7 separate regions of the Homo sapiens genome follow, and regions 1, 2, 3, 4, 5 and 6 are each linked to region 7. The links are contacts of gene promoters, found by promoter capture Hi-C in human tissues and cell types (Jung and others, 2019). All regions are on one chromosome and are shown on one strand. Each heading gives the region's core, a stretch centred on a gene start or on the middle of the fragment in contact. The rest is flanking DNA. Distances are from core to core; before and after follow the strand shown. Region 1 holds the start of WDR45B (WD repeat domain 45B). Region 2 overlaps TBCD (tubulin folding cofactor D). Region 3 holds the start of MIR4525 (microRNA 4525). Region 4 holds the start of RAB40B (RAB40B, member RAS oncogene family). Region 5 holds the start of FN3K (fructosamine 3 kinase). Region 6 holds the start of ZNF750 (zinc finger protein 750). Region 7 holds the start of TEX19 (testis expressed 19).

Region 1 (4,246 bases), core at 1,464-3,963, 290 kb before region 7:
TGTGTGTATAATTTCTATTCTCTCCACCCCCAGAGGTGAGACTCTGCTTTCTGCCTGCCTTGGAGAAGGGTGGGCGAGATGAGCCGTGTCCCTCACTCCAAGTCACACTTCAGGTCTTCCACGTGGAGACCTCTGAGCTATCAGTGGACGGCGGGATTCCTGGAGCTGCTGGAACAAAGCCCCACAGGCTGGTGGCTTGGACAACAGCCTGTGTTCCTTCCCAGGCTGGGAGGCTCTGGGGAAGAACCGTTCATGCCTCTCCCGGCTCCTGGTGACCCCACGATTCCTGCACTTGCTGACTTAGGGCTGAGCACTCCAGTCCCACTGGCTGCTGTCCCCTGTATCTCCTCCATTCCTGTCTCCTCCAAGGGTGCCGGTCACCAGCTTTAAGGCCCACCCCAAATCCAGGATGATCTTATCTCGAGATCCTTAATTACTTCTGCAATGATTCTTTACCTAAAGAAGCCCCTATTCTCAGGTTCTGGGTGGACCTATCTTTTTTTTTTTTTTTTTTTGCGACAGAGTCTTGCTGTGTTGCCCAGGCTGGAGTGTAGTGGCACAATCTCAGTTCAGTGCAGCCTCAGCCTCAATCTCCTGGGCTCAAGCCATCCTCCCTCCTCAGCCCCCCAGGACACATCTTTAGAGGGTCACCATTCAACGCACTGTGGTGGGCAAGGCTGCTTTGAGTTTCCTGGTTAGGATACAACCAGCGCTGTGTGTGGATGTCCACACATGCCCCCGCCCCCGGCTGTACAGCCACCGGGAGACTGAGTAAAATGTGAACTGAAGGAGGCCCCAAGGGTGGCAAGCAGAGAAATGAAGGGAAATGTCCCTTACCCACGCCTCTCTCCTTCCCCCACGTGACACTTCTCACAGCAGGTACCGGTACGTGTGCACAGAGGAGAACCCAGTGCCCTTCAGGGAAGAGGGTGCTGAGCCCCTGGACCGCACTTAGGTCTCGCCCCAGCTCTGTGATTTGGACCTGGGCCCCCGAGCCCTAGTCACAGCCGGGGCGGCCCAACTCGCTCCGCCATCGGAAGGCTTCTGGTCGCTCTCAGGGAGGAGCCCCTCTCGTATGGGAATCGAGGTGTTCAATGCCCACGATGCGGAGACCGCCTGGCCCGAGTGGGCCAGTGATCTCAGCTTACAGTCCAGCTCCTTCCTCCCCATGGCTAAGAGGTCAGCACCAGCTCAGGCAAGTGGCGAGGGTGGGATGAGGATGACAGACGGGGTGGAGGCAGGTGGCTGCGAGGGGACAGTGTCAGGACCTCCTAGGAGATCAGGTGTGCTGCAGGGAACAGGGAGAGCCTAGGAGGGGACAGGAAAGTGAGGAGGGGGAGTGGAGAGGACTCCCTGGGCAAGAGACACGAGGGCCAGCACTCAGGCCTCCACAGCCATCCACTGCATGAGCCAAGCCCAGGGACAAAGCTCTGTGACCAGGATGCCCCCAGCAGCCTGACCCTAAGAGTTGAGAACTGTGCCCTGTGAGCAATGTGACCTGAGGGTCCCGGAGTCCTGCGGGGGCTGTGCTGTGTGAGGGCCACCTGTCCTTTAGGTGGGGTACTAAGGGGTTGTGTCCTCTATGGGCTGTGTCGTGGGGGGGCTGTGTGTCCTCTGGGGGGCTATGTGTCCTGGGAAGGTCCCTGTGTCCTGGGAAGGTCTCTGTGACCTGGCGGTCTGTGTGTCCTGGGGGGGCTGTGTGTCTTAGGGGGACCTCTGTGTCTTCTGGGGGAATATGTGCCCTGGAAAGGACTCTGTGTACTGGGGGAGGCTGTGTGTCTTAGGGGGGCTGTGTCCTGGGGGGGTTTCTGTGTCCCGGGGGGGCTGTGTGTCCTGGGAGTGCTGTGTCCTGGGGGACCTCTGTGTCCTGGGGGCACTGTGTGTCCTGGGGGGACCTCTGTGTCCTGGAGACTGCGTGTCTTGGGGGTCCTCTGTGTCCTGGGGGGTCTCTGTCCTGGGGACTGTGTGTCTTGGGCACCCTCTGCGTCCTGCAGGAGCTGCGTGTCCTGGGGGGGCTGAGTGACTTGGGGGCCCTCTGTGTCCTGGGGGTCTCTGTCTCCTGAAGGGGGACCCTAGTATTGTGGCGCTTCTGGGCTTGCCTCTCATGAGGGATGATGCACCGGGCCTCAGTTTTGGGTCAGCCTCCTTTACCGGCTCTCCCCCCTTCCTCCGACCGTCAGGTATCCGTGCCAAGCCCTCAACGGGCCATCCTCCTTCCCGCGGCGACCCCGCGCATGACAAGGCCAGACCCTCCCGCGAACGTGCTCTGCGCTCCCGCCTGGCCCCTCCCCGCCCCGCCCCTCCCCCTCCTCCCCGCCCCGCCTCGCTCCGCCCCTCCCCGCCTCCGCCCCGCCCCGCCCGCCCTGCCTCTCCCCGCCTTTCCTCGCCTCGCCCCGCCCCGCCCCGCCCCCTCCTCCCCGCCCCGCCTCGCTCCGCCTCTCCCCGCCTCATCCCGCCCCGCCCGCCCTGCCTCTCCCCGCCTCATCCCGCCCCGCCCGCCCTGCCTCTCCCCGCCTTTCCTCGCCTCGCCTCGCCTCGCCCCGCCCCGCCCCTCCCCGCCCTGCCTCGCCTCGTCTCGCCTCGCTTCGGTTAGATGCGCTCGGCGCTCCATAGGCTCCCTGGTGGGGCGCGGGCGCGCGCACGGACGTCCAGCACGCACGCACGCACGTCCAGCACACACGCACATCCAGCACGCACGCACGTACGTCCGGCACTTCCGGCCGCGGCGGCCTCAGCGCCGGCCCGAAGGGACCAGGCCGCCGTCCCCAGCGAGAGGCATGCAGCGCTGAGGAGCGGCGACCCAGCACGGCGGCGCCATGAACCTCCTGCCGTGTAACCCTCACGGCAACGGGCTGCTCTACGCCGGCTTCAACCAGGACCACGGTGAGGAGGCGCGGCCCTGTCGCCTTGCCCGGCCGGGCCTTCCCGCAGCCCGGGGTCCCCGGCTCTCAGGCCTCTCCTGGGCGCCCCTTTCCGGCCAGGCCTTCCACCCGGGACCCCGGCCCCGCCCGAGCTCCCCTCCGAAGCCCCCGGCCCCGGCCCTCGCCGCTGCTCCCAGCCCGAGCCGGGGTCCGGACCAGGCCCGAACCGGCTCCCACCTTCCTGGCCTTTCGCGCTCCCCCACCCCCCGGGTTGTGACCGCTCCCAGCCGGCCGTCCCGGGCCGAGGTCGAGGTCGGTGGGAGACGGCACAGAACCCCAGCCTCCTGCGCGGACGCCCCTCCCCGCGCGCCACGCCCACTCGGGTTCCCTGGCTCCCTGCGGGCTCCACGGTTATCGGGATTTTCCCCACAGCGTGATTGACGCCCTGCCCAGAACCCCGTTTTGCCCCCTGTTCCTTTCAGGGTCTTTAGTAGGTAGCCCGTGGCTGAGCTGACTTCGCTTGGGTTTACTGGAGCCGCGGAGCCGGCGTCTCCGACGCCTCTGGTGGCGAGTGGCGCGGGTGGGGTGCAGGTCTCACCTTTCCCGTCGGTTTCCATCGGAAAATGTCACTCTCCCCACCCCCACTCCCCGGGATTTTTCTTCGTGTTTGGTGGAGTCAAAGGACTTAAGGGAGGCCTTTGAGGGAAATCTTACTTCTTTTCCCATGTCGGAATCCAGGTGTAAGCACTGGATGATTTAAAGCGCCCAGGGAAGGTGACCTCCTTCCCCGCAGGTGCTTCGGAGCTGCGGGGGATGCGGCCGGGGCGGCGCGGTCGGATTCCCGCGGGAGGCGGGCGGGACCTGGATTCGGATGGTTGCCTCCTCACCTCCCATTTGAAGGGCGCGCTTCCCAAAGGTCCTGATGGGGAGGAAAAGGAATGTCCGTTATTCCGAGACAGGCTTCTGCGAGGCTTTACATGTTGGCTTTGGAAGTTTTGTTTTTGAAGAGAATCCAGGCAGGTGCTGTATGATCCCGTATATGTGAAGACAATTTTATTTATTTATTTATTTCATTTTGAGACGGAGTCTCATTCTGTCGCCCAGCCTGGTGCGATCTCGACTCACTGCAACCTCCTCCTCCCGGGTTCACGCCATTCTCCTGCCTCAGGCTCCTGAGTAGCTGGGATTACAGGCGCCTGCCTCCACGCCCGGCTACTTTTTGTATTTTTAGTAGAGACGGGGTTTCACCATGTTGGCCAGGCTGGTCTCAATCTGACCTCAGGTGATCCACCCGCCTCGGCCTCCCAAAGTGCTGGGATTACAGGCGTGAGCCACTGCGCCCGGCCGGATTACACATATTTGAAAGAACTCCCTCTCAGTGATTT
Region 2 (4,049 bases), core at 494-2,993, 460 kb before region 7:
CCCAGGGCCCCTTGATCACCTGGGAACTGAGGTACACAGGCCTGCAGGGGGCAGCAGGGTCAGGCCAGGCCACAGCCAGGGCTGGACAGACAGCAGGGCCCCCCACAAGAGCCTGAGCCAGCCTCGGCACTGAGCCCCAACGGCTCTACCAGGGAGGGAATGCCCTGTCCCTAGACCTCAGCTGGAGCTGCTCTCCTGGAATTTACCATCCACCTCAGTGCTCCAGAGCCTGTGAGGAAACTCTGGTCCTCCACCCCTTCCCCCTCTCAGAATCGGACTCCTCTCCTATAAAATATCCCTTCTGAAGGAGCCTCTGCGGGTTTCCATGTCGGCTGCTTCCTCCCCTTTTCTCCACCTCCCCATGCCAGTGAGCCTGGGAACCCGGTTCAAGCTTTTCCACCCATTCACCTTCCTCATCTCTCACTCCCTCCTGTGTGAACTCATCAATCCATAACTTTGTAGACCATTACTATGTGGAAGGCTCCAACATGTCACTCACTGACCTTACTATCTCACTCTCTTTCACTGAATAGAACAGCAAAGTCGTTGAGTTCAGAATCCTACATGCAGCGTATTTCCTTTTCTCTTTCTTCACAGCTCTGGTCTCACTCCGAACACTGTGGTGGCTCCCGAATGGCCTCACTCTCCCTCGCTCTTCCTTTCCACTGCACCCCCGTGTATTCCCCAGTATCTGACTTTATGTTGAATAATTTCCAAACCCCTCACTGTGTTCCTGAAGCCCCTCTAGGATCTGGCCCCCAGGCGCTTTTCTGTGCCCACTCTTCTGCTCTTTCCGCTGTCCCAGCTCGTGCGAGCCTTCGTTCCTCTTTGAGATGCTGCGGTCAGGAGTCCATCCTGCTCGGCTCCTTCACGGTAGAAGCTCTCAGCGTAAATGTCGCCCCAGGAGGTCTTCCCCAAGTCTTATTCAAGTCACTGGTTGGCCCCATCACTGAGGATCTCACCGCCCTTTTGTATTTTCTTAACGACTTTATCCATTCTCTGAAATTGCTCCCTTCGTTTCCTTGTTTAATGTCTGAATCTCCCTCCAAACCCTGTCCCCTTCACCGTCACAGAAACGCTGTGTCCTCACCTCAACTGCCAAGAGCAGTGGGCGCCAATCGCACTTGTCATAGGAAGTACGTGCAGAGTTTTCGTCATCCAGAGAGAAAAACATGACAGTTTCTTTTGGAAGCCAGAAAACACAGTCCACAGGTGGGAATTAATCTACTGAATGGTGCTTTTAACAAGACCCCAAGGCAGCTGCAGCAACATCGTCGTAAGACGCTGCTTGTACGTCTTCGATGAACACTGAGAGCGTGTGCTCCAATGCAACTCTGTACATTTTTCAAAATTTATAACATTTATATAAACTTATAAAAATTTAATGTTTATTAAAATTTTTTCGAAATTTATAAAATGTATTATACATTTAAAAATTTTCTCAAAACATCACCTTAGATAAGAGTTAGGCAGTCTGTATTTCCGACATGCAGGGCTTACTACCTGATGCAGGTTCACAGGGACCTTGAGCCTCCTAGCAGTAAAACAAACATGCTCTCCAACCTTCAGAAAGTTGCAGGAAGGTTAGAATGGGCTTCTCTGTGGCTTTGGGACACCAGACCATTACACTTTATAAGACATGGGGTGACAGACTGCACCTTCTGGGGGAAGGGGTAGGCCTCCTTGAGAGGGGGCAGTGAAGGACCCCAGCCTGAAGATTGCATAGGGAGCTTCCTAAGTTTGAGGGAAGGCAGGAGAAAAGCTTTGTAGATGCTAATTTAACAGAGACCTGCTTTAGCCACACAGTGGGTATAAACAGACCTATGTCACCAACACAGCCCTCAAATCTGTTATTTGGGAAACACATATGCAAAGATTTCTTCCTTTTTAGGCTTTAAAGCAAAGGTTAAGTGCTGGGAAGCAAGTGTGAGCCACTGTGCTCAGTCTTAGACAAAAATATGCTCACAGATCTCAAGAAAACTGTGGACAAAGAACTAAAGGAGACCAAAAGAACAACATTTAAACTAACATGGAATGTTGATAAAGAGACAGAAATTATAAAAACAGGCTGGGCACAGCAGCTCACTCCTATAATCCCAAGGCAGGCCAAGGCAGGAAGATCACTTGAGTCCAAGAATTTGAAAGCAGTCTGGACAATAAAGTGAGATCCTGTTTCTACAATTTTTTTTTCCAGTGCAGCAGGCCTGTGGTCTCAGCTACTCAGGAGGCTGAGGCGGGAGAGCTGCTTGGGCCTGGGAGGTTGAGGCTGCAGTAAGCCGTGATACCACCACTGCACTCCAGCCTGGGCGACAGAGCAAGACCCTGTCTCAAAAAGAAATTATTAAAAGAGAAACTAAAGAGAAATTCTGGAACTGAGGACTCAACAGCTGAAATGAGTGCAGAACCTAAGAGACTCATAGGGCACCATCAAGCTTACCAACATGTATATTAACACAACAAGAGGACTCAACAGCTGAAATGAGCACAGAACCTAAGAGACTCATAGGGCACCATCAAGCTTACCAACATGTGTATTAACATAACAAGAGGACTCAAGAGCTGAAATGAGGGCAGAACCTAAGAAACTCATAGGGCACCATCAAGCGTACCAACATGTGTATTAACATAACAAGAAGACTCAAGAGCTGAAATGAGTGCAAAACCTAAGAGACTCATAGGGTACCACCAAGAGTACCAACATGTGTATTAACATAACAAGAGTCCCACAAGGAGAGGAGAGGGGCAGCAAAAATACCTGAAGAAACAATGACTGAAAACTACCCGAGTTTGATGAAAGACATGAATCTACACATCCAAGCTCAGAAAAACACCAAGTGCTAGTTATTATTACCCAAATCAATATGCACAATTCTCAATCAATAAGGATAGCAAGGGAAATAGGGTTCATACAAAATGTCCAAAGAGATCAGAACACTTGACATTTTTCAAAAAGCAAAATACTGATGAAAACCACAAAATGCATAATAAGGAGCACATGTATACATTTTATCAAAATAGTACAGTTGGCTGGGCGCAGTGCCTCACGCCTGTAATCCCAGCACTTTGGGAAGCCAAGGCAGGCAGATCACTTGAGGTCAGGAGTTCGAGACCAGCCTGGCCAACATGGAGAAATCTGGTCTCTACTAAAAATAAAAAAATTGGCTGGGCATGGTGGCGGGCGCCTGACTCCCAGCTACTCGGGAGGCTGAGTCATGAGAATCACTTGAACCTGGGAGATGGAGCTGGCAGTGAGCCAAGAGGGCGCCACTGCACTCCAGCCTGGGCAACAGAGCAAGACTCTGTCTCAAAAAAAGAAAAAAAAAAAAAAGGTAAACTTAAACCAATACATCCCCCCACCTGTGCTTCTTGTATCCAACAAAGGAAACCGTAAGGGTTCACAAACATTGTAGGAGCTTACTCATGGTGAGGAGTGCCCACCTCCTCCTGCCACAACAACAGAGGTGTTCAAAGAGGAGCCACAAAAAAGGTGAAAGGACCTACGCCAGGACCACTCAAGAAAAGTCCTGGAATTTGAATCACCTAAAATAAAGACCAAGTAGCCCTTTAACAGTAGTCCTCAAACAGAGGTGATGATGCAAAGAGAAAAAGAACATGGCCCACTGTCCACAGGCCGAGGCAGGAGGATCGCGTGAGTGCAGCACTGCGATCATGGCTCACTGCAGCCTCAACCTCCTGGACTCAAGCAATTCTCCCACCTCAACCTCCTGAGTAGCTGGGACTGCACCCAACTACCTTTTTAAAACAATTTTTGTAGAAACAGGATCTCATTTTGTTGCGCAGGCTACTTTCGAATTTCTTTAAAAAATTAGCTGGGCGTGGTGGTGTGCACAGAGTCAGAGACCAAGAAATAGGCTTACAGCACAACAGATGGAGATTCTGTGTGTGTGTGCACTGTATGTGTGGAGAGGAATCAGCAGGATTCCCTAAAAAGTAACCCAAAGAAAATGCGATGCTTTTTTCCTGAGTCCAGCAGGCAGAGTCCCCCTATTCAGAGGACTAAGGGCAGAAAGACCCAGGGTGCCTTCCAG
Region 3 (4,003 bases), core at 634-3,133, 310 kb before region 7:
TGGTTTTGAAACTCGTAGGGCGCTTAAAAAGACCATCAGGAAGCCGGGCGCGGTACCTCACACCTGTAATCCCAGCATTTTGGGAGGCCAAGGCGTGCAGATTACAAGGTCAGGAGTTGGAGACCAGCCTGGCCAATATGGTAAAACCCAGTCTCTACTAAAAATACAAAAATGAGCCGGGCGTGGTGGTGGGCGCCTATAATCCCAGCTACTCAGGAGGCTGAGACAGGAGAATCCCTTGAACCCGGGAGGCGGAGGTTACAATGAGCTGAGATCGCGCCACTGCACTCCAGCCTGGGCGACAGAGTAAGACTCCGTCTCAAAAAAAAAAAAAAAAAATCAGGAATTCTTTTACATTTATGAACACATTTTAAAGTTGTTTGGCCCTTGGCTGGGCGTGGTGGCTCATGCCTATAATCCTAGCACTTTGGGAGGCCAAGGCAGGTGGATTACCTGAGGTCAGGAGTTCGCAACCAACCTGGATAACATGGTAAAACCCCGTGTCTACTAAAAGTACACAAATTAGCTTGGCTTGCTGGCGTGTGCCTGTAATTCCAGCTACACGGGACGCTGAGGCACGAGAATTGCTTGAACCCGGTGGGCGGAGGTTGCAGTGAGCGAGATCACGTCACTGCACTCCAGGCTGGGTGAGAGAGCGAGACTCTGTCTCAAAAAAAAAAAAAAAAAAAAAAAAAGATTGTTGGCCCTCAAGGACAGGTCAAGAGGATACTTTCTAAGTCAGAGGACCCAGCCAAGCTCAGGCAGTGGATTAATCTCCGGAAAGACAAATATGAGCCTCTCAGCCCGTGGGGGTGAGTGTCCCTTCGTCTGGAGACAGACATATCAAAGCTGGAGTTATCTCCGCATTCGAAAATAGATTCCCAAGTGTATTCGTTCATTGCCTCGTGCCTGCCAAGGGAAAATAAATATTTCCAAAATTCTCTTTGAGGATTGCTATTATGGAGCAAATATGTATGTTCTTTTTTAATTTATTGTTTGTGTTTCACGCTCAGTGTGTTCATTGCTGACGGCTGCAGGACTTGGCACATGATGGTGCCTTCCCGAGAGCTTAGTAGGGTTTTAAAGGACTGTGAAGAGATTTTTGGTCGTCGCTCAAAGCGTAATTTCACAGGGCCTGAAGCTCCCGCGCTGGGGCTAGTAGAACTATCTAGTTGGAAGGCTCCAGAAAAGTGTTTTTGTCTCCTTTTACATTTTTTTTTAGAGACAGAGTCTCACTCTGTCACCCAGGCTGGAGTGCAGTGGCACGATCATAGTTGACTGCAGTCTCCAACTCCCGGGTTCAAGAGATCCTTCCACCTCAGCCTCCTGAGAAGCTGGGACGACAGGTGTGCACCACCATGATTGGCCAATTTTTTTATTTTTTATTTTTATTTTTTTGAGACAGAGTTTCGCTCTTGTTGCCCAGGCTGGAGTGAAATGGTGTGATCTCGGCTCACCACAACCTCCACCTCCCAGGTTCAAGCAATTCTCCTGCCTCAGCCTCCTGAGTAGCTGGGATTACAGGCACCCGCCACCACGCCCGGCTAATTTCGTATTTTTAGCAGAGACAAGGTTTCTCCATGTTGGTCAGGCTGCTCTCGAACTCCTGACCTCAGGTGATCCACCCCGCTCGGCCTCCCAAAGTGCTGGGATTACAGGCGTGAGCCACCGCGCCCAGGCCCTAATTTTTAAATTTTTTGTAGAGATGAGGTCTCACCATGTTGCCCAGGCTGGTTTCGAATTCCTGGGCTCAAGCGATCCTCTCACCTTAACCTCCCAAAGAACTGGGATTACAGGCGTGAGCCACCGTGCCTGGCTATTTTCCTTTCTGTAAAAGGACTGTTTCCTTGATACTCACTTGGTCACCTGGGAAAACCACAGCAGTGTGGTTTTGGTCTGACAGCAATGGAGGCTACGCCGCGTGCCCCACTGTGGTGAGGTCAAGCTCCTGGTGCTAAGATGCTGATGGTAGCAGTGGCCCATCTAGAGTGGCTGCTGCCAAGATGCCGGCTGCAGCGGAGGCATGGCTGGGCCTCTCGATCCACGGATCAGGCAGCAGCTCCGCCTTCCCTGCGTGCCGCGGCCCGCTGCCCTGGGGCAGCTCTAGACGCGGGCGTCTCTGTGCTCTTGGAGGCCTGGGAAGGCCACCCCTGCCCCCTGCAGGCTTAGAAGTGCCTGCTCCAAATGCCTGGCCTCTCCTCACTCCCCACGCCCGCTCCAGTCGTGGAGCACAGTTGGGGCTGAGCCCAGGTGCTGCTGCAGACCATCCGGGTGGGTCCACACTTGGGGCAGCACGGACACACCAGCCCTTGCCACCTCAGCCCCCTCGGGACTGGGCGCTGTTGAACATGGGAGGGAAGCTGAGGGAGGGCTGAGGGTGGCTCAGTGCTGGCCTGCAGGCGCCCCTTGGCATGAACAAGCTGGGTGCCATGAACAGCAGTGGGAGGCAGACAGACTTCTGGGTGGAAGGGGGCAGGTCCCTGGTGAAGCCACACCTTGAAGCTTCAAGGGGGCCTGGGGCCCGGGCTGCCAGTCCTGCAGACTGGAAGGAGGACTCGGTGCTTTTGTCAGAGGGGGGATGTGCATGCTGGTTGGGGTGGGCTGCCTGTGGACCAATCAGCGTGCACTTCCCCACCCTGAAGACCACAAAAACCCCAGACTCAGAGCAACGCGGACGTCGGGATGACCAGCTGCGGAGAGCTACCCTGTCTGCTGAGAGCTGAACACTTGTCAGGACGACCTGCCTGCAGAGAGAAGCCACCCACTGTGGGTCTCCCCTGAGCTGTTCTAACACTCAGTAAAGCTCCTCCTCGTCTCGCTCACCCTCCACTTGTCTGGGTACCTCATTCTTCCTGGATGCAGGACAATAATTCAGCAGCCACAGAGGTTTCCAGCCGGAAGAGCAACATCCCAAAGGCCCCATCAGTGCCCCGTCAGCGCCCATGCCAAGAAGAGAGAGACAGACGGTGCACTCAGCGTGCCTGCTGGGCTCGGTGGCAAACGTTTGGCCAGCTCAGGAAAGCCTCGTACTGGGTGGGTCAGGGGACTGCTTGGCCGCTCTGTCTGAGCCTCATCACGGGGCAGGTGGCGTCTGCAAAGCGGGTGCTTCGGGCGTTCTCAGTGCTGCTGTATCTTTTGTCCTCTGAATCACTCTCCTCTGACGGGGGGAGTTTGCTCTGGTGTTGCTTGGTCTAATCTACCTGGTGGCGTGATGGGCAGTCTCTGTGGACAGAGTGTGGAGTTTAGCAGGAGACAGAGGAGGATGCGGGAAGCCTGGACTCCATGTCTCTGGGGCTCTGGTGGCACCACAGAAAGAGCCTCTGGAGTCCAGGAAGGGGGCAGGGCCCGGAGGAGGAAGCAGAGGGCAGGGGACAGGCTGGACACAGCAGCTGTGGGAGGGAGGGGTGCTCGGGATCTCATGGAAGGCGCTGCACAGGTGTGCTCAGATCAGGCAGGTGTGCCATGCACGTGCTCATGGCTGCATCAGTGGAAAGTGGAGGACAGAGGCCCAGAGCTGCTGCAACGCCCAGGCCTGCCTGAAGATGTGGGCGACCAGCTGTCCAAGCCAAGTGGGAGGCCACCGGTGGCACCGCCACTGCACACCTCGCTCTGCCCGACAGGAGACCAGGAACTCGGCACACTGCCTCCTGGGATGCAGGGGGGCTTGTGGCCAAGTCCAAGGGTTCTAGACCCTTCGAGGGGGCAGAAGCTGCTTGAGAACCGTGGCCTCCGCAGCCTCGCATTTTTAGAGGAGCCTGTTTCTGGGCACTCACTGGCTACATCGTGGGCTTCTCTGGAAGGAGAGCTGCAGAGGCCGTGTGCTCCACGACGGTCTCCAGGGTGAGGTCTGGTGCGAGCCTCGGCGCTGCTTCTCCCCTCGGCCTCTCAGCGGCGCGCTTCCCTTTAGAATTCTGATTCCCTATTCAGCCATACTTGTCAAAGCACTCAACATCCGATCACAGCCGAGAGTGAGGCCAGGGCTTGTCTCTTGTAGGTTTAGTGC
Region 4 (3,799 bases), core at 131-2,630, 340 kb before region 7:
AACATTTTCTAGGTCCAAATGAATGCAAATGACAAATATAATAATCTTGACTTCAGTCTCTTTTGTAATTCTTCTTCCGCTCCCTCTTCTGTTCCTCCCCCACAAAAAACTTCTAATGGGGTCTAGAGCAGTTCCCTACACAACGCAGGGTGGAGGGGATGAAGTAGTGGGGGCATTATCCTTCTTCTTGGACGGAGCTCGCCCTTTGCCTGCTGCCTGAATTCTGCACCAAATAAACCAATGTGCACCTGGTGAGACCCTCAGAGCGAAGGGCAGACCTCGGCCTGGCAACCCTTGCTCTCTAGAGCAGAGGAGAAGCCAAAAGGCTGGAGGGTCCCACCCAATGCTCTCCTCCAGCACGCACGCAAACACATGCATGGATGCACAAACAAGCGCACGCACACATAGGAGCGCATGCATAGAAGCAGCACACGCAGACACACACATGCAAAGATGCCTGCAAAGGCACACATGCACACGCACATACATGTGCAGACACCTGCAGAGGCACACATGCACACGCAGACACACAGATGTGCAGACATCTGCAGAGGGACACATGCACACGCACATACATGTGCAGACACCTGCAGAGGGACACATGCACACGCAGACACATAGATGTGCAGACACCTGCAGAGGGACACATGCACACGCAGACACATACATGTGCAGATATCTGCAGAGGCACACATGCACACGCAGACATGCACACACACGAACACATGCACACGTACACAGGCGCATGTGCACACACAGGCATTCAGGCACGCCGCGTAAATGGGGCAACGACGAGGCCCTGGATGAACCGTGGGGAGAGACCGCGAGCCTGGATTCTACGGCGACAGGGACTCCTCCGGCGAGGCGGCCTGCGGGGGCCTTCCGGCCGCGTCCGCCAACTGGACCGACCCCGAGCCCCACCCGGCCAGGCACCCGAGGTCTCCCTGGTGGGCAGGTGGGGAGGCCCCACGCTGGGACCCTGCACCGCCCCTCGCCCCTCCCGACTCGGGGCGTGCAGACCCGACGACCGTGGGAGCGAGTTCGTGGCGCTCACGGGCGCACGCGAGAGTGTAAACACCCGGCCCCACCCCCTGATCGCCCCCACCCCGCCCCGCCATTGGCTGCGGGAGCAGAGTCCCCGCCTCCTGCTTGTTCTGGCTCCGCCCCTGCCCCGTCTCCGGGCCTCCATTGGCTGTGGTGACAGCGACCTTTCAGGAGGGGCGGGTGGGCGACAGCCCGGAGGCGGTGACGAGAGTAAGATGGACGGACAACCAAGCCAGTGAAAGCGCGCAGCTGCCCTAGCAACTGCGGTCCACCAATGGCGGGGCCGGGCGGGGATGCGCGCTGTCAGCGCTGGGCGGCGGGGCGGGGCCGGAGGCGAGCAAGGACTCGGGGCCCGCGCGGCGCCTCTCGGGGCCGGGCCGCCGCCTCTGCGCTCAGCCCCGCAGGCCGGGCATGGGTGGGGGCGCCGGGCCGTCACGATGAGCGCCCTGGGCAGCCCGGTCCGGGCCTACGACTTTCTGCTCAAGTTCCTGCTGGTGGGCGACAGCGACGTGGGCAAGGGCGAGATCCTGGCGAGCCTGCAGGATGGCGCGGCCGAGTCCCCGTACGGCCACCCGGCGGGTGAGCGCGGGCGGAGGGCGTGCCGGGGTGCGGGCGCGGGGCCGGGGAGGGGCGCGGGGCTGGGGAGGGGGTGCGGGTGGGGGTCCGGGTCCGGGGACGCGAGACCGGGCAGGGGTCGGGAAGAGGCCGGGGCGCGTGGCCGGGGAGGGTAGGAGTCCCGGTCCGGGGGCGCGGGGCTGAGGAGGAGCGCGGTTCGCGGGCGGGCCTTTCTCCGCCCGGCCCTGGCCCTCGTGCTGCGGCGTCCCTGTTGCACCCCCAGTTCCACTCGAGGCCCCGCGGCGCAGTCTCCATCCTTCTCCGCAGTCTGCGCGCAGCGGGAGCCCGCGGCTGGGCCGGGCGCTGGGCTCCTCCCGACCTGGGGCCGCTGCTGTGGGGACCCGGGGCGGGGGCTCGAGTCCGCAAGTGCGCGTTCGGCCGCGGGGCAGGAGGGGCGGGAGGGGACGCGAGCTCCGGGGCTCCTGGGGCGGAGCGCGGCGAGCAGGCGCCCAGGTGCTGGGTCTGCGCGTGGGTCGGAGGGGAGGGGAGACCAGGGTCCGGTCCCGAGGCCAGGGGTCCCGCGTGTCCGGGGGAGAGGAAGGAGCACAGGTGACTCGCGTGCGGAAGAGGGGACCCCCCACGACAGCGGCCGGAGAGCGGGTTCCAGGGCGAGGGGAGGCCGGAGCGCCCAGAGCTCCCAGGCAGGCAGCCCGGGGATCCCCCAAGTTTGAGGCTTGAAAGCCGGCGCCCGGCGAGGGGGTGGACGGCTCCGGGGAAAGAAAGGCGGGGGCAGGAACCCAGGAGAAGGGGGAACGCGCAGAGGCGAACACCTCGGCTGGGAGTGAGGAGCAGGCGGGGCCTTCACCCACGCGCATCCCTGGAACAGCTTGGACGAGGCCGACCCTGAGGCTGTGGAAGGAGCCCAGCCTGTGCCCACCTTCCTGCCGCGCCTCGGGGCTGAACCCACGCTTCCAACAGAGACCCGCTCTGAGTCCTGGGCGGAGGAGGGCAGCCGGGCGTGGAGATGGAGTCTTGGTGGGAAGGACCTGTCAGCTCTGGGGCCTGGGAAGGGTCTGGGAAGCCCCAGGTCCAGGGTCCTGCCAGAGACGAACTTAGCGGGAGAGGGTGGGAGGAAGCGGGATCTGAGGCTGCTCGGTAGAGGGTGCAGGCTGTCCCCTAAGGGCAGCTCCAGGCAGGCGGCGTGAGCACCAAGGGAGTGTGGCACGGCTGGAGGGGGTGGCCTGAGACTGTGGAGCGTGGGGTGGGACTCAGGTGCCCGGCCACACCTCAGCTTAGGGGACGGGGTGAGGAATGGGCAGAGTTTGGGGGAGCAGCTGAGATGGGCTTGGGCTCACGACCAGCACCCAGAGGCCTCCTGAAACTGCAGCATGCGGGGGAGTCTCTGGCAGCTGGTGGGTGCAGAGTGTGCTCCGTGGGGCAGGAGGGGAGCCTGCGTCTCTACCTGTCCCCAGGCGCCGCTGCCCCCGCATGTCCTACCCCCCTCCCCGCTCGGTGGCAGGTCTCTAGGACCGTGGTGTCCAGTAGGATGCCATGAGCCACGTGTGGCTGTGGAAGTGTAATTAGAAGGAAAGAAAACAAAAAGCTTCCATTCGTCACATTTCTAGATAGTTCGGATGTCGCTGTGGCAAAGTCCGAGGGCCAGCGCTGCCCTGGAGATTGAGCGCCTGGAGGACAGGGCTGGAGATTGAGCGCCTGGAGGACAGGGCTGGAGATTGAGCGCCTGGAGGACAGGGCTGGAGATTGAGCGCCTGGAGGACAGGGCTGGAGATTGAGCGCCTGGAGGACAGGGCTGGAGATTGAGCGCCTGGAGGACAGGGCTGGAGATTGAGCGCCTGGAGGACAGGGCTGGAGATTGAGCGCCTGGAGGACAGGGCTGGAGATTGAGCGCCTGGAGGACAGGGCTTTGTCTGCACTGTGCCCTCGGGGTCTGGGCTCAGTGAGGGATGAACCCTACCAGAGCTACAGGAATAAAGCACCCAACAACGTGTACGCCCAGACGAATATGGCGCTTTAAGAGCTGTGCGTGTTTTGGGGGAGCAGACGGTTGACAGTGTTGAGTTTGATTGAAGGTGAGTGCCGTGGGGCGTGTGTGAGAAGGGTCACGCACAGAATGTTTGTGAAACTTCCTTCTGGTTGGTTTGAATGGAGGCTCGGGGATGCTTCTGCTGCGTGACTTTTG
Region 5 (3,795 bases), core at 44-2,543, 380 kb before region 7:
ACCCTGCAGAGCTTTCAGGACCAGCTGAGGAAGTTTCCCAGAGCCCGTGGGAAGCCTGAACCAAAAACTGCTTCCCTGTGAGTAGGACTCCCCACTTTGAGGGATTTGGTTCTGAGCCGGCAGAGCAGGTGATGCCGGAGGATCCGATCGCACGCCCAGGCTGCATGGCTCTGGTGTTCCTCCTGCCAGCACTCCCCACCAGGACCCCTGCTGCCCCTCAGAGAGCTCCCCCACCAGAGTGTGCAGGGCCTTCTGAGCCCACTCGGGCCGGGAGGGCACCCAGGCCTGCCTTTCTCCACCTGCCGGCTCTCAAGGCTGAAGCTAACCTTCTCCACTTCCTCCGTTAACATTTTCCATACTTTTTTTTTTTTGAGACGGAGTTTCCCTCTTGTTGCCCAGGCTGGAGTGCAATGGCGCGATCTTGGCTCACTGCAACCTCCATCTCCTGGGTTCAAGCAATTCTCCTGCCTCAGCCTCCCGAGTAGCTGGGATTACAGGCCAGTGGCACCACATCCGGCTAATTATTGCATTTTTTGGTAGAGACGGGGTTTCACCATGTTGGCCAGGATGGTCTCGAACTCCTGACCTCAGGGATCCACTCACCTCGGCCTCCCAAAGTGATGGGATTACAGGTGTGAACCACCGCGCCCGGCCTTCCATACATTCTTAAACAGAACTATTTTCAGCAGGAGATAGAAATCAGGTCTAAACACAGACAAGGCCTGTGGGAAGGAGAACGCTGGCCTGGCCCGTGGGGTCCCTGCCAGGGGCCCAGCCATGTCTCTGCTTCTTTCCCACTGCCAGGAGGACGGTGGGCTGAGAGGGGCGGCCCAGAGCTGAGCCAAGGACCCCAAGCCTCACATCCCCCGACGCTTGCTGGATAGGAAAGTTAAAACCACCCCTAGAAGCCTGTGCGCTGCGCATGGAGGCCAAAGGAAGGTCACGGATCGTGCAGACACAAACCTTCACAGAACGCTTGAGCCGGGCTCACCCAGCAGGTGCCACCTCCCAAGGGCCAAAGCTGACCCCTCCCCAGGCCCAGCCCCAGGAAATGCGCCTGCCCCCGACCCCTCCGCCTTCCCAGGCCCCGCAGAGACCCGCAGAGCCCCCGCCTGCGCACGGGCCAGCACCTGCGTCCTGCGGTTGACTTTGACGAACACTGGGCCTGCGTCCGTGTCGTAGGCTCGGCCCTCGCTGATGCAGCCGGCGCCGGGGCCGCCGAAGGCCCGCAGGGTCGCGGTGCGCAGCTCGGCGCGCAGCAGCTGCTCCATGGAGTGCGGGGCGCGGGACTCTGCTCGCTCGGAAGCCCCTGTCGGCTGAGGCGCTGCGGGGCGGGGCGGGGCGGGAGCGCGCGGCGCGTGACCCCGGGCGGCGGGAGGGGCGGCCTCAGGCGGGCTCGCCGCGCGCTCCCCGCGTTCGTCCGGCTTCGCGCTTCCTGCGCCCGGGATTCGGGGGAAGCAGCCGGGAGTCCGCGCAGCTCTTCGCGGGCGCGCTGGGGCTTGAGCTCCCTGCAGGGACCCGGTATCCCTGCCCCGCAGCGGACGCAGGTCCGGCCCTCGGCCCGGGCGCTGGTCACAGGCCTGGCCGGCTTCCCACACTGCAGACCAGGCCGGGCCCAGCGGCCCCCGTGATGACGTGGGGCTTGCGCACTGGGACGCCAGGTGCCGATCGGAGAGAGAGGCTGACGTGGGGGCTCCGATGGCACGCGCTGACCCGGCCCAGGGTGGGGCTGCTGATTCCAGGATGTCCTGGGAAAGGGACTTGAGACACAGGAATGCCCACGCGCGCCCATGCATGCATACACGTGGGTACACACGCGTGCACACGAGCAGGTGCGCACCTGAGCCCAGTCCGTGCTGAAGTCATTTGACGTGAGGTTTTTTTATTGTTTGTTTTTTGTGTTTTTAAGAGATGGAGTCTCTGTCTCCCAGGCTGCAGTGCAGTGGCGCGATCTCGGCTCACTGCAAGCTCCGCCTCCCGGGTTCAAGCCATTCTCCTGCCTCAGCCTCCCGAGTAGCTGGGACTACAGGCGCCCGCCACCACGCCCGGCTAATATTTTTGTATGTTTTAGTGGAGACAGGGTTTCACCCTGTGAGCCAGGATGGTCTCAATCTCCTAACCTCGTGATCCACCCGCTCGGCCTCCCAAAGTGCTGGGATTACAGGCGTCAAGCCACCGGCCCGGCCTGCCCAGCTACATTTTGTAGTTTTAGTAGACATGGGGTTTCCCCATGTTGGCCAGGTGACCTGCGTGCCTCAGCCTCCCAAAGTGCTGGGATTACAGCCGTGAACCACCACGCCCGGCCATGCATGAGGTTTTAATCAATAAATCTGTTTTTTTTAGGGCCCCAACAATTGTCTTTTCCCACAGAGATGCAGGGGTCCTGCCGCGGGGAGGGAGCCTTTGGGAGCTGCCTATCCCCGCGGTCCTGCCCACTTGCTCAGCTGGGCTGGGGTCATCGGGAGGCTCCTTAACTCCTACATCTGGCACCTCGGCCAGGATCACTGGAACCTGGGCTTAGCGGTCACTGTCAAGCAGGACATGTCCATGTGGCCTCCTGGTGTGGCCTGAGCTTCCCTGAACATGGAGGCCAGGTTCCAAGAGTGAGCACTGGGAGAGCCAGAGCTCCCAGAGAGCTGGCAGAAGCAAAGGCCTTTTCTGACCTGGCCTCAGAAGCCACACACCATCATTTCCACCTCCTTCCATCGGTCTCCAAAGCCGCAATCAAGGCAAGGGGATCCGCAGCCACCTCTTTTTTTTTTTTGAAACAGGGTCTTGCTCTGTCACCCAGGCTGAAGTGCAATCTCGGCTCACTGCAACCTCCACCTCCCGGGTTCAAGCGATTCTCCTACCTCAGCTTCCTGAGTAGCTGGGATTACAGGCACGCGTCACCACGCCCCGCTAATTTTTGTATTTTTAGTAGAGACGGGGTTTCACCATGTTGGCCAGGATGGTCTCAAACTCCTGGCCTCAGGTGATCCGCCTGCCTCAGCCTCCCAATGTGCTGGGATTACACATGGCACCCGGCCAAGCAGCCACCTCTTGACAGGAGTGGCAGGGCTGCCGCAGAACAGCAGGTAGGACAGGAGGATGACTGTGGTGTCTGCAGAAAGGGCATGTGCCAGTCCCTGGCTTTTTCTCATCTGAAGCCCACCCTGCTATCGCATCTTGACAGAAGGTTCCTGACAGGCCAGTGTGAGCTCTCGTACGTCTGTAAATTTCTTTCTTCCTAGTTGACAGTTTGGCTGGGTATCAAATTCCAGCTTGGAGATCAGACCATGTTCTTTAGGAACCAAGAAGCTGCCAGCTCCAGTTTTGATGTTGAGAAGCTTATGGCCATTTCAGTTCTTATTCTTTGTGTGGAAACTGTTCTATCTCTGCAGGCTTTTAGGGTCTTCTCTGTGACACCAGTGAAAAATTCCCCAGGGAGGTGTCAGGGTGAGTCTCCTGTCATCCCCTGAACAGGACTGGTGGGTCCTCCAATCCTGGGACAGCTTTTAGCCCTTCATGGCGTTCTCCCTCTGTATTCTTGGTTCTCTTTTTTGGAATTCCAACACTGTGGTCTAGAGTCAGTCCTCTCTGTTACTGCCTCAAAGCCCCTTGTAATTTTTCTTCATACAACTCATGAGTCTACAGTCAGATATTAGGCGTCACACAGAGAACCATACGAGTGCTCAGGTCTCTCAGTGAGAAGAGGTGCCTGAATGAAGAAACAGATATGCAGGCACCAGGCTAGGAAGTCCTCTATGTGGGGGGTTAAGAGCTGTTGAAGATTCAAGGGCAGGGCAGTTAAGT
Region 6 (3,897 bases), core at 37-2,536, 480 kb before region 7:
AAAGTAAACGCAAAGCCATGTAAAATCTTAAGTCTTAAGGAAAAAAATAACAAAAACAAAAAAACAGACCGGGTGCAGTGGCTCACACCTGTAATCCAAGCACTTTGGGAGGCCGACGTGGGTGGATCACAAGGTCAGGAGATCAAGACCATCCTGGCTAACACGGTGAAACCCCATCTCTACTAAAAATACAAAAAATTAGCCGGGCGTGGTGGCAGGCGCCTGTAGTCCCAGCTACTCGGGAGGCTGAGGCAGGAGAAACGCAGTGAGCCAAGATCATGCCATTGCACTCCAGCCTGGGCAGCAACAGTGAAACTCTGTCTCAAAAAAAAAAAAAAAAAAAAAAAAAAAAACCAGTTTGTCTGTCCTGGCCAGCTCGTCCCTATGCCACAGCCCTGCAGCCTCTGCCCTGCAGCCTCAGGCTCATCCAAGGGCCTGACACCAGCTCATCCCACCTCCTTTCCCAGTCCTCAAACCGACACCACATGCCAGCCTTCGCTACAACTGGGGTGCGGCCTCCGATTAAGCAAGCAAGCAGTTTTGGTGGGGGGGTGTGGAGGTAAAAACTGGCCCCCAAGTTAAGTGCCTCTGCAATTTAAAGTGGGGGGAGGGTGGTTTGCGGGAGTGCACAGCTGGCCCCCTCCCCCGCACCCACACACCCTGCTCCGCAGCTCTTGCGGTGCCTGGTGTCGGGCAAGCTCCGGCAGGTCCCTGCAGCCAGGCTCTGGGATAAGCTCCCTCCCTGCCGGCTCAGCTCCTGAGGAGGACCAGGGACAGAGACTCTCAGGAGCAGGGTAGAGGGTGGAAGGTCCACAGATCCTCAAAGGCCTCACTGGACCTCATGGCAAGGACGCCATGAATACTGTGCCTCCCAGGGTATGCGCGCTTGAGAATCAATCCAAGTGTTTGCCTCCTGCGTACACATGCTCAAGTTCTAAAGGAAAGTCTCACATGTCTTTATCATGACGCCAAATATTCATCGGGTGTGATTCTGATGAATATAGTAATCTCTATTCTAACTGCGGACACATCGAAAGCCCTCTGACATATGGCCGTCCAGGCAGCACCGACGCCGCACTCACAGACAGTTGAGTCTGGAGACAGCGCTGGGAGTCGGCGAGATAACTTGCTTGCTGGGTCCAGTGCTGGGGAGGCTGCCCGCAGCAGCTCGGTGGGTGCAAACACATGAATCGTAGCTGCGGGCAGGAGGAATATCAGGTGCATCTCTACGCCCCGAGGGCTCAACTCCTACACTTAAATCCCTCCCACTGGAACAGCAGGCTCCAGTTTCACCCAGCAAGCGTGAGAACAGGTACTGCTTCCTGAGCACCGCCAGCCACCGGCACCAAGACCGGCCACATCCCAGCACTGCCCACCTCTGGTAAGTACTCACTATTTCTTTTCAAATTCAAGTTTTATTTTAAAACTCTTCTCAGACGTATCTAAAATACCCAGCTGAACGCAGCGTTTGCTCCGTGTCTGCTCTGCCTTGCTCTGGGCTCCGAGGATTACTCAGGACCCAGCAGGTGCATGGCTGGGATGCAGACCACGATTACAAAACTTCTAATGAGGCTGACACTTTATTCTAAGAACATGAACAAGCTTATCTGGAAATTAACTCCTTGTTCTGCCCTAAAATTCATAAAAGTTAAACCAACACAAATTCATATTATTGCTTAACTGCTCCTAACCTCAAAAACAAACTACAATAAATGCTAACAAGAGGTAAGGGTCATATATATATGTGTGGTGTATGTACATTAGGGTGAATTTAGGGTTATATGTGTGGTGTATGTACATTAGGGCTGAATTTAGGGTTATATATATGTGTGGTGTATGTACATTAGGCTGAATTTAGGGTTATATATGTGTGGTGTATGTACATTAGGGCTGAATTTAGGGTTATATATATGTGTGGTGTATGTACATTAGGCTGAATTTAGGGTTATATATATGTGTGTGTGGTATATGTACATTAGGCTGAATTTAGGGTTATATATGTGTGGTATAAGTACATCAGGCTGAATTTAGGGTTATATATATGTGTGGTGTATACACATTAGACACAGCTGAATTTAGGGTTATATGTTTGTGGTGTATGCACATTAGACAGTGCCGAATTTACTATCTAGTTTAACTTTTAATAGTTTTAAAGTTTAAAATAAGTACATAAGCTTACATGAAGTTTAAAATTGGGCATAAGCTTTCGAAAACAAAACCAAACCAAAGGGGTTAAGTTTCTGTTTGGTTGTTAAGGTCTTCTGTACATATAGACACAGATACAAAAGGGTTTTTTTCCTTATATGAAATTTCTCATAAACTTGATTTGGAGGAGAACAATTACTGACCAAGCACAGTCCGTCCACATCTGTGCCCCTAATTTTCACTGCGCATTAGCAAAGGCCTTCCAGCATTTCTGACCGGAGTTTCAGGATGAGGCGGCGACTGTAAAGTGGTGAGCGTTTGTTTACGAGCTCAGGTCTGTAACTCGGGATCTCCTGCCGAAACTAGAGTTAAGAGCCCCTGGTTGTTTTTCTGGATCCATTCTTCCAAATTACATTCCCAAAGACTGTCTTTTCCCCAGGTCTTGGTTGTCCTGAGGTTTATCTTTCATTTTAAAGAACCGAAAGGCTGGGAGGGAGTGGCAGTCAATCACTGGAAAAGCTCAATTGGAGTAAAACTCACAAATCTCGTTCTTGCGACATCACAGTGGGTAGGCGACAATGGTGTGTCCTTGAGTTATGCAACAACGCCACATCACAATATTGTAATTACAGCATGCCCTTCACAATGCTCCAGCCGAGCAGGCTCCTTGCCAGACAGCTGGACACCACCAAAAGGAACATTACAGCACAATCTCAGGGCACAGGTTAGGACGCATGACAAGCATAGTTACCCAGCCTGTCACAGAAACGTCCCATAAAGTTAAACTGTAATTACTTCCGCTGTGTCCTATCAAAGTTTTTTTTTTTAAGAACTCTTTCTCTTGTCTATTTTTCAAAGTTCAAACTCCTTAGAAGCTTGTTAAGCATCCCAACTTCTCACTATTACCCTAACAACTGTCTGCTGCATTAACTGTCCACACTTAGGAACCTTTGGAAAGACAGTATATTGGCAATTTAGACACAACCCCATGGCCAACCGAAACCACTCACTCTTCAAAGCACTGTCTGTGTGGGCAGCTACGCCCCAACACCCGGCCCAGTGCACGTTGAGCAGGAAGAGAAGCGAGCTCTCAGCTCAGCGCACTTTCCAGAAGCCAAGTGCATCGGCTGAGCACACAACATTTAAAATATTTAGAAAGGCACAGAGTGGCATCTGTAAATATGGCAAGAAAAGCCTGGTGAAAGCTCAGCTGGATCCTGAGCATGTTTGAAGCCACTGCACCCCACTGTTCTTACGCCCTTTAGTGTAGACACTGTCTACATTGGCTGCTTGATCTGAAATAACTTGGAGAAAGAAGGCTTTGTGCCAGGCCAGGCTCGGAGGAGGTGTGTTGGAGAAGAGGGCACACATTAGCCAGCAGCAGTCAGGGAAGACTCTGCATAAGTATTTCAGCAACAGCCACCTTTGATCCAGATCTGGAAGCTCTGTGGCATGTCCACCCTGCTAACGCTTCCTGCCGATCCAGTGGGAAATGAGAGGAGGATGAAACCCTCCTTCAGGATCACACCGAGGTCTTCACTGTAAAACACGCTAGCACTGCAGTTCTCAAATGAAAGCAGATAATGAATGAGACTCTGCTTTATTAACAGACAGACAGACAGCTCTCCGGGCATGTTATTAACTAAAATGGAAACACACCTCCCCCAGGAGAGAAAGACGCTCCGCACTTCTTTATCCCCTCTAGAGAAAAACTGCACCTCTAAATACAAATCCAAATTACTGTAAACAGCT
Region 7 (4,011 bases), core at 26-2,525:
GAGGGAAACTGAGGGAACCTGAGGGAACCTGAGGGAAACTGGGGGAACCTGAGGGAAACTTGAGGGAACCTGAGGGAAACTGGGGGAACCTGAGGGAAACTGAGGGAACCTGAGGGAAACTGGGGGAACCTGAGGGAAACTTGAGGGAAACTGGGGGAAACTGAGGGAAACTGGGGGAACCTGAGGGAAACTGAGGGAACCTGAGGGAAACTGGGGGAACCTGAGGGAAACTGGGGGAAACTGGGGGAACCTGAGGGAACCTGAGGGAAACTGGGGGAACCTGAGGGAAACTTGAGGGAAACTGGGGGAAACTGGGGGAACCTGGGGGAAACTGGGGGAACCTGAGGGAAACTGAGGGAACCTGAGGGAAACTGGGGGAACCTGAGGGAAACTTGAGGGAAACTGAGGGAACCTGAGGGAAACTGGGGGAACCTGAGGGAAACTTGAGGGAAACTGGGGGAAACTGGGGGAACCTGGGGGAAACTGGGGGAACCTGAGGGAACCTGAGGGAAACTGGGGGAACCTGAGGGAAACTTGAGGGAAACTGAGGGAACCTGAGGGAAACTGGGGGAACCTGAGGGAAACTTGAGGGAAACTGAGGGAAACTGGGGGAACCTGAGGGAAACTGGGGGAACCCGAGGGAAACTTGAGGGAAACTGGGGGAACCTGAGGGGAACTTGAGGGAAACTGGGGGAACCTGAGGGAAACTGGGGGAAACTGAGGGGAACTTGAGGGAAACTGAGGGAACCTGAGGGAAGCTGGGGGAAACTGAGGGAACCTGAGGGAAACTGAGGGAAATTTGAGGGAAACTGGGGGAAACTGAGGGAAACTTGAGGGAAACTGAGGGAACCTGAGGGAAACTGGGGGAACCTGAGGGAAGCTGAGGGAAACTTGAGGGAAACTGGGGGAACCTGAGGGAAACTTGAGGGAAACTGAGGGAACCTGAGGGAAACTGAGGGAAACTTGAGGGAAACTGAGGGAACCTGAGGGAAACTGAGGGAACCTGAGGGAAACTGAGGGAAACTTGAGGGAAACTGAGGGAACCTGAGGGAAACTGAGGGAAATTTGAGGGAACTTGGAGAACCTTAGGGAACCTGAGGGAAACTGAGGGAAATTTGAGGGAAACTGAGGGAACCTGAGGAATCCTGGCCCCGCTTCAGCCTCCCAACCCCTCACCCAGCACCAGGCCGTGTCTCCGAGACCCCTCCTCAGAGACCCCTCCTCGGGAGATCTCACCATCCTGGTGTCTCTGTTCATGTGGGCACCCAGGGAAAGGAGGAGGCAGAGCCCATTTGGGTATATAAAGGGCCATTTCCCATGGTGCTCTGGGCTCATCTGCATATCTCCCATGAGCCTCAGTTTCCAGGAAATGAAAGTGCTGAGTCACCAGCTCCCTCCAAGGAGGGCCATGTGCAGCCCCTGGGCACCTGCAGGAAGGCCCTGGAGAGGCAGCTCCTCTGGGGGCTGGAGATTGGGGTGGGTGCTCTCCGTCTGCAGGCTGGCACAGGGTGAGCATCCAGCCTGTGGTTGCTGGCCCGTCGTGGGCACGACGTCCTGGTCCTGCCGCGTTTGTAAAACGTGATCCCTGCTTTGCTGTCTCTGTCTTAAAGTTCTCTGAATTTTAAGAACCAGCCAATTGTCAATTAGTTATTGTTTAAACACATTTTCCCCTTTGTGGTTCATCTCTTCGCTCTTTAAACAAGACGCTTATAAATTAACACTTGTTTTTTCAGTAGACTCTATTTTTTACAGCAGTTTTAGGTTCATAGCAAAATTGAGCCAAAAGCATGGAGCTCTCCCACCGCTCCCCTGCTCCTGCAGGTGCACAGCCTTCCCCAGTCCTCCCGTCCCAGCCATTTGTTACACGTTGTTATTATCATCATCGCCCTCTGCAGTTTCCATTATGCTTTCCTCCGGTGCTGTGCATTCTGCAGGTTTGGACACATGTATAATCATGCAGACCCACCACTCTAATATTGTACAGACGGGTTTCTCCGCCCCGATTCATCTGTGTTCTGCATTTTCATCACTCCCTCTCCCAGCCCCTGGCAACCAGGAATCTTTTGACTGTCTCCTTAATTTTGCCTTTTCCAAAATGTCACAGAGCTGGACTCATACATTATGTAGCCTTTTCAACTTCTTTTTTAGTAATACGCACTTTGGTTCTTCCATGTCTTTTGTGGTTTGATAGTTCACTTCTTTTTTTTTTTTTTTTTTTTTTTGAGACAGAGTCTTGCTCTGTCACCCAGGCTGGAATGCACTGGTGAAATCACAGCTACTACAGCCTCAACCTCCTGGGCTCCTGTGATTTTCTCACCTCAGCCTCCCAAATAGCTGGGACTACAGGTGCTGGTGCACACCCCGATAAGTTTTGTATTTTTTGTGAGACAGGGCCTCACCATGTTGCCCACACTGGTATCAAACACTTGGGCTCAAGTGATCCGCCTGCCTCTGCCTCCCACAGTGCTGGGATTACAGACGTGAGCCACCTTGCATGGCCAGCTCACTTATTTTTTAACACTGAATGGTATTCCATTGTCTGGATGTACCATGGTTTATTTATCCATTCACCTATGGAAAGACATCTTGGTTGCTCCCAGGTTTGGGCAATTATGAATAAAGCTACTACAAATATTCATGTGCAGGTGTCTGTAGACATAAGTTCTCAACTCATTTTGGTAAACTCTAAGGAGTGAGATTGCTGGATGCTGTGGTCAGAGTGTGTTTAGTTTTGTAAGAAAGTGACAAATTGTCTCACACAGTGGCCCTGTGGGAGGAACCCCCAAACCCTTTCCCTACATCCCCATGACCTCTGCTCCTCCCCACCTGGCAGCTGTCTGTGCCTGGCTCAGGTCATCCACACACCTGGGGCTGCCTGCCACCCCCACCAGGTTAGGGCTCAGATCAGGGCCACCCCTCACCCTGGGGCTTCCTCGTCCCAGTCCTGGGATAGGGGCAGGTGTGGGGCTTTGGCTGCCAGGTGTCCTGCTGTGGGTGGAGAGGGCAGTGAGCTCATTCCCTAAAGACTCGGGTGCCTGAGCTGTCTGGCTGGTCCCCTCAGGTGAGAGGAAAGTAGTGGTTGAGGGACCCCACAGAGAAGCCTGTTTATGGGTCTGGGGGTCAGAGGCTCCCGGGAGGAGCCCCCAGGTCCTGGTTTTCTCTGAAAAGGCCACTCAAGGCCTCGGGGCTGAGCTGTGGCTGCCCTGGCCAGAAGGGGGCCGGGGAGGGAGCCCTGCACCTGTCGTGAACACTCAGGGCTGGGCCAGTGGGCGCCTGGAGGATGAGGTCCCTCCCACCTGGCCCCTCCCAGCCTCAGTTCTCAGGACACAGCCCAGCCGGCAGCTGCCAGAGTCACTGCCTAAAGGAGGTTTTGACCGAGGAGCAGCAGAGCCCTCTGAGGGCCCCTGTGGTAAGCAGGCTCCTCGCTGGTTTGCATGGCTTTTTCACACAGTAGTTGCGTCGAGAATTTAATATGCTGCGACCTCGTTGCCAGCAGGAGCGGTGTGGGACCGGGAAGCTGACGGGGAAGTGTTGGCGGGTGCAGGGCAGCGTCCACTCTGGGAAGCTGTGGCCAGCGCGTCCTGGCCAGCCAGGGCCTGGGCAGGGACTTGCCTCTCGGGCCTCGGCCTCACCCTGGTCTGAGAGTGTAGGACCCTCTCAAGGTCCTCAGTCACCTCAGCAGCCTGGGACGGAGCCTTTGGATCGCTTCCTGGGCAGCTGGGTACAGGAGAGGCCACTTGAGACAGATGTTGGGATGGACAGCTGGATTTGAGGCCCAGAGGGAAACCGTGGCAAGACTTGGTGGGTGGATGGTACCAGAGGAACAGGACGTGGCCATAATCGGGGAATCCAACACTCCTGTATCTCCAGAAGGACCAGGCATTTCCCCAGCTGCAGAGACCACTGATGGGGCAGCACAGCCATTGTGGGGCCAAGGCCATGACCCGGAGCCACTGGGGCCGTAAGCCTGACACCCAGATTGCCCACGAGCCAGAACCCCATCCCCACCAT

What was found. Contacts are between HindIII fragments. The study calls those that stand out against the background at their distance.
Region 1: a contact is called between the fragment with the promoter of WDR45B here and the fragment with the promoter of TEX19 in region 7, in 4 of the 25 tissues and cell types used here (IMR-90 fibroblasts, dorsolateral prefrontal cortex, lymphoblastoid cells and 1 more).
Region 2: a contact is called between a fragment that was not itself captured here and the fragment with the promoter of TEX19 in region 7, in 4 of the 25 tissues and cell types used here (dorsolateral prefrontal cortex, lymphoblastoid cells, mesenchymal stem cells and 1 more).
Region 3: a fragment that was not itself captured here is called in contact with the fragment with the promoter of TEX19 in region 7 in 1 of the 25 tissues and cell types used here (lymphoblastoid cells).
Region 4: the fragment with the promoter of RAB40B here is called in contact with the fragment with the promoter of TEX19 in region 7 in 2 of the 25 tissues and cell types used here (dorsolateral prefrontal cortex and spleen).
Region 5: a contact is called between the fragment with the promoter of FN3K here and the fragment with the promoter of TEX19 in region 7, in 4 of the 25 tissues and cell types used here (IMR-90 fibroblasts, aorta, bladder and 1 more).
Region 6: a contact is called between the fragment with the promoter of ZNF750 here and the fragment with the promoter of TEX19 in region 7, in 4 of the 25 tissues and cell types used here (adrenal gland, bladder, dorsolateral prefrontal cortex and 1 more).

Annotation. Positions count from the first base shown.
Region 1 is chr17:82,646,911-82,651,156 of GRCh38, reverse strand. WDR45B (WD repeat domain 45B) reads left to right here and starts at 2,713. Exons shown (of 10, transcript NM_019613.4): 1 at 2,713-2,883. The coding sequence starts at 2,817. RefSeq lists enhancers at 2,121-2,190, 2,569-3,068 and silencers at 2,481-2,550, 3,151-3,200, 3,211-3,260. The HindIII fragment of the contact is 22,392 bases long and covers 1-4,246 here.
Region 2 is chr17:82,819,254-82,823,302 of GRCh38, reverse strand. All of the region lies in intron 13 of TBCD (tubulin folding cofactor D), which reads right to left. Among named protein-coding and RNA genes, the nearest start is that of ZNF750, 19 kb to the left of the region's middle. The HindIII fragment of the contact is 3,186 bases long and covers 151-3,336 here.
Region 3 is chr17:82,666,871-82,670,873 of GRCh38, reverse strand. All of the region lies in intron 1 of RAB40B (RAB40B, member RAS oncogene family), which reads left to right. MIR4525 (microRNA 4525) reads left to right here and starts at 2,567; the gene lies at 2,567-2,641. RefSeq lists an enhancer at 1,913-2,092. The HindIII fragment of the contact is 8,732 bases long and covers 1-4,003 here.
Region 4 is chr17:82,696,279-82,700,077 of GRCh38, reverse strand. It overlaps RAB40B (RAB40B, member RAS oncogene family), which reads left to right and starts at 1,380. Exons shown (of 6, transcript NM_006822.3): 1 at 1,380-1,623. The coding sequence starts at 1,482. RefSeq lists silencers at 812-1,201, 1,222-1,651. The HindIII fragment of the contact is 28,650 bases long and covers 1-3,799 here.
Region 5 is chr17:82,733,113-82,736,907 of GRCh38, reverse strand. It overlaps FN3K (fructosamine 3 kinase), which reads right to left and starts at 1,293. Exons shown (of 6, transcript NM_022158.4): 1 at 1,131-1,293. The coding sequence starts at 1,271. RefSeq lists enhancers at 1-124, 125-837, 1,550-2,262. The HindIII fragment of the contact is 14,087 bases long and covers 1-3,795 here.
Region 6 is chr17:82,837,411-82,841,307 of GRCh38, reverse strand. ZNF750 (zinc finger protein 750) reads left to right here and starts at 1,286. Exons shown (of 3, transcript NM_024702.3): 1 at 1,286-1,381. All of the region lies in intron 13 of TBCD (tubulin folding cofactor D), which reads right to left. RefSeq lists an enhancer at 3,254-3,755. The HindIII fragment of the contact is 7,618 bases long and covers 1-1,888 here.
Region 7 is chr17:82,356,511-82,360,521 of GRCh38, reverse strand. It overlaps TEX19 (testis expressed 19), which reads right to left and starts at 1,275. Exons shown (of 2, transcript NM_207459.4): 1 at 1,237-1,275. RefSeq lists a silencer at 1-89 and an enhancer at 3,698-4,011. The HindIII fragment of the contact is 14,968 bases long and covers 1-4,011 here.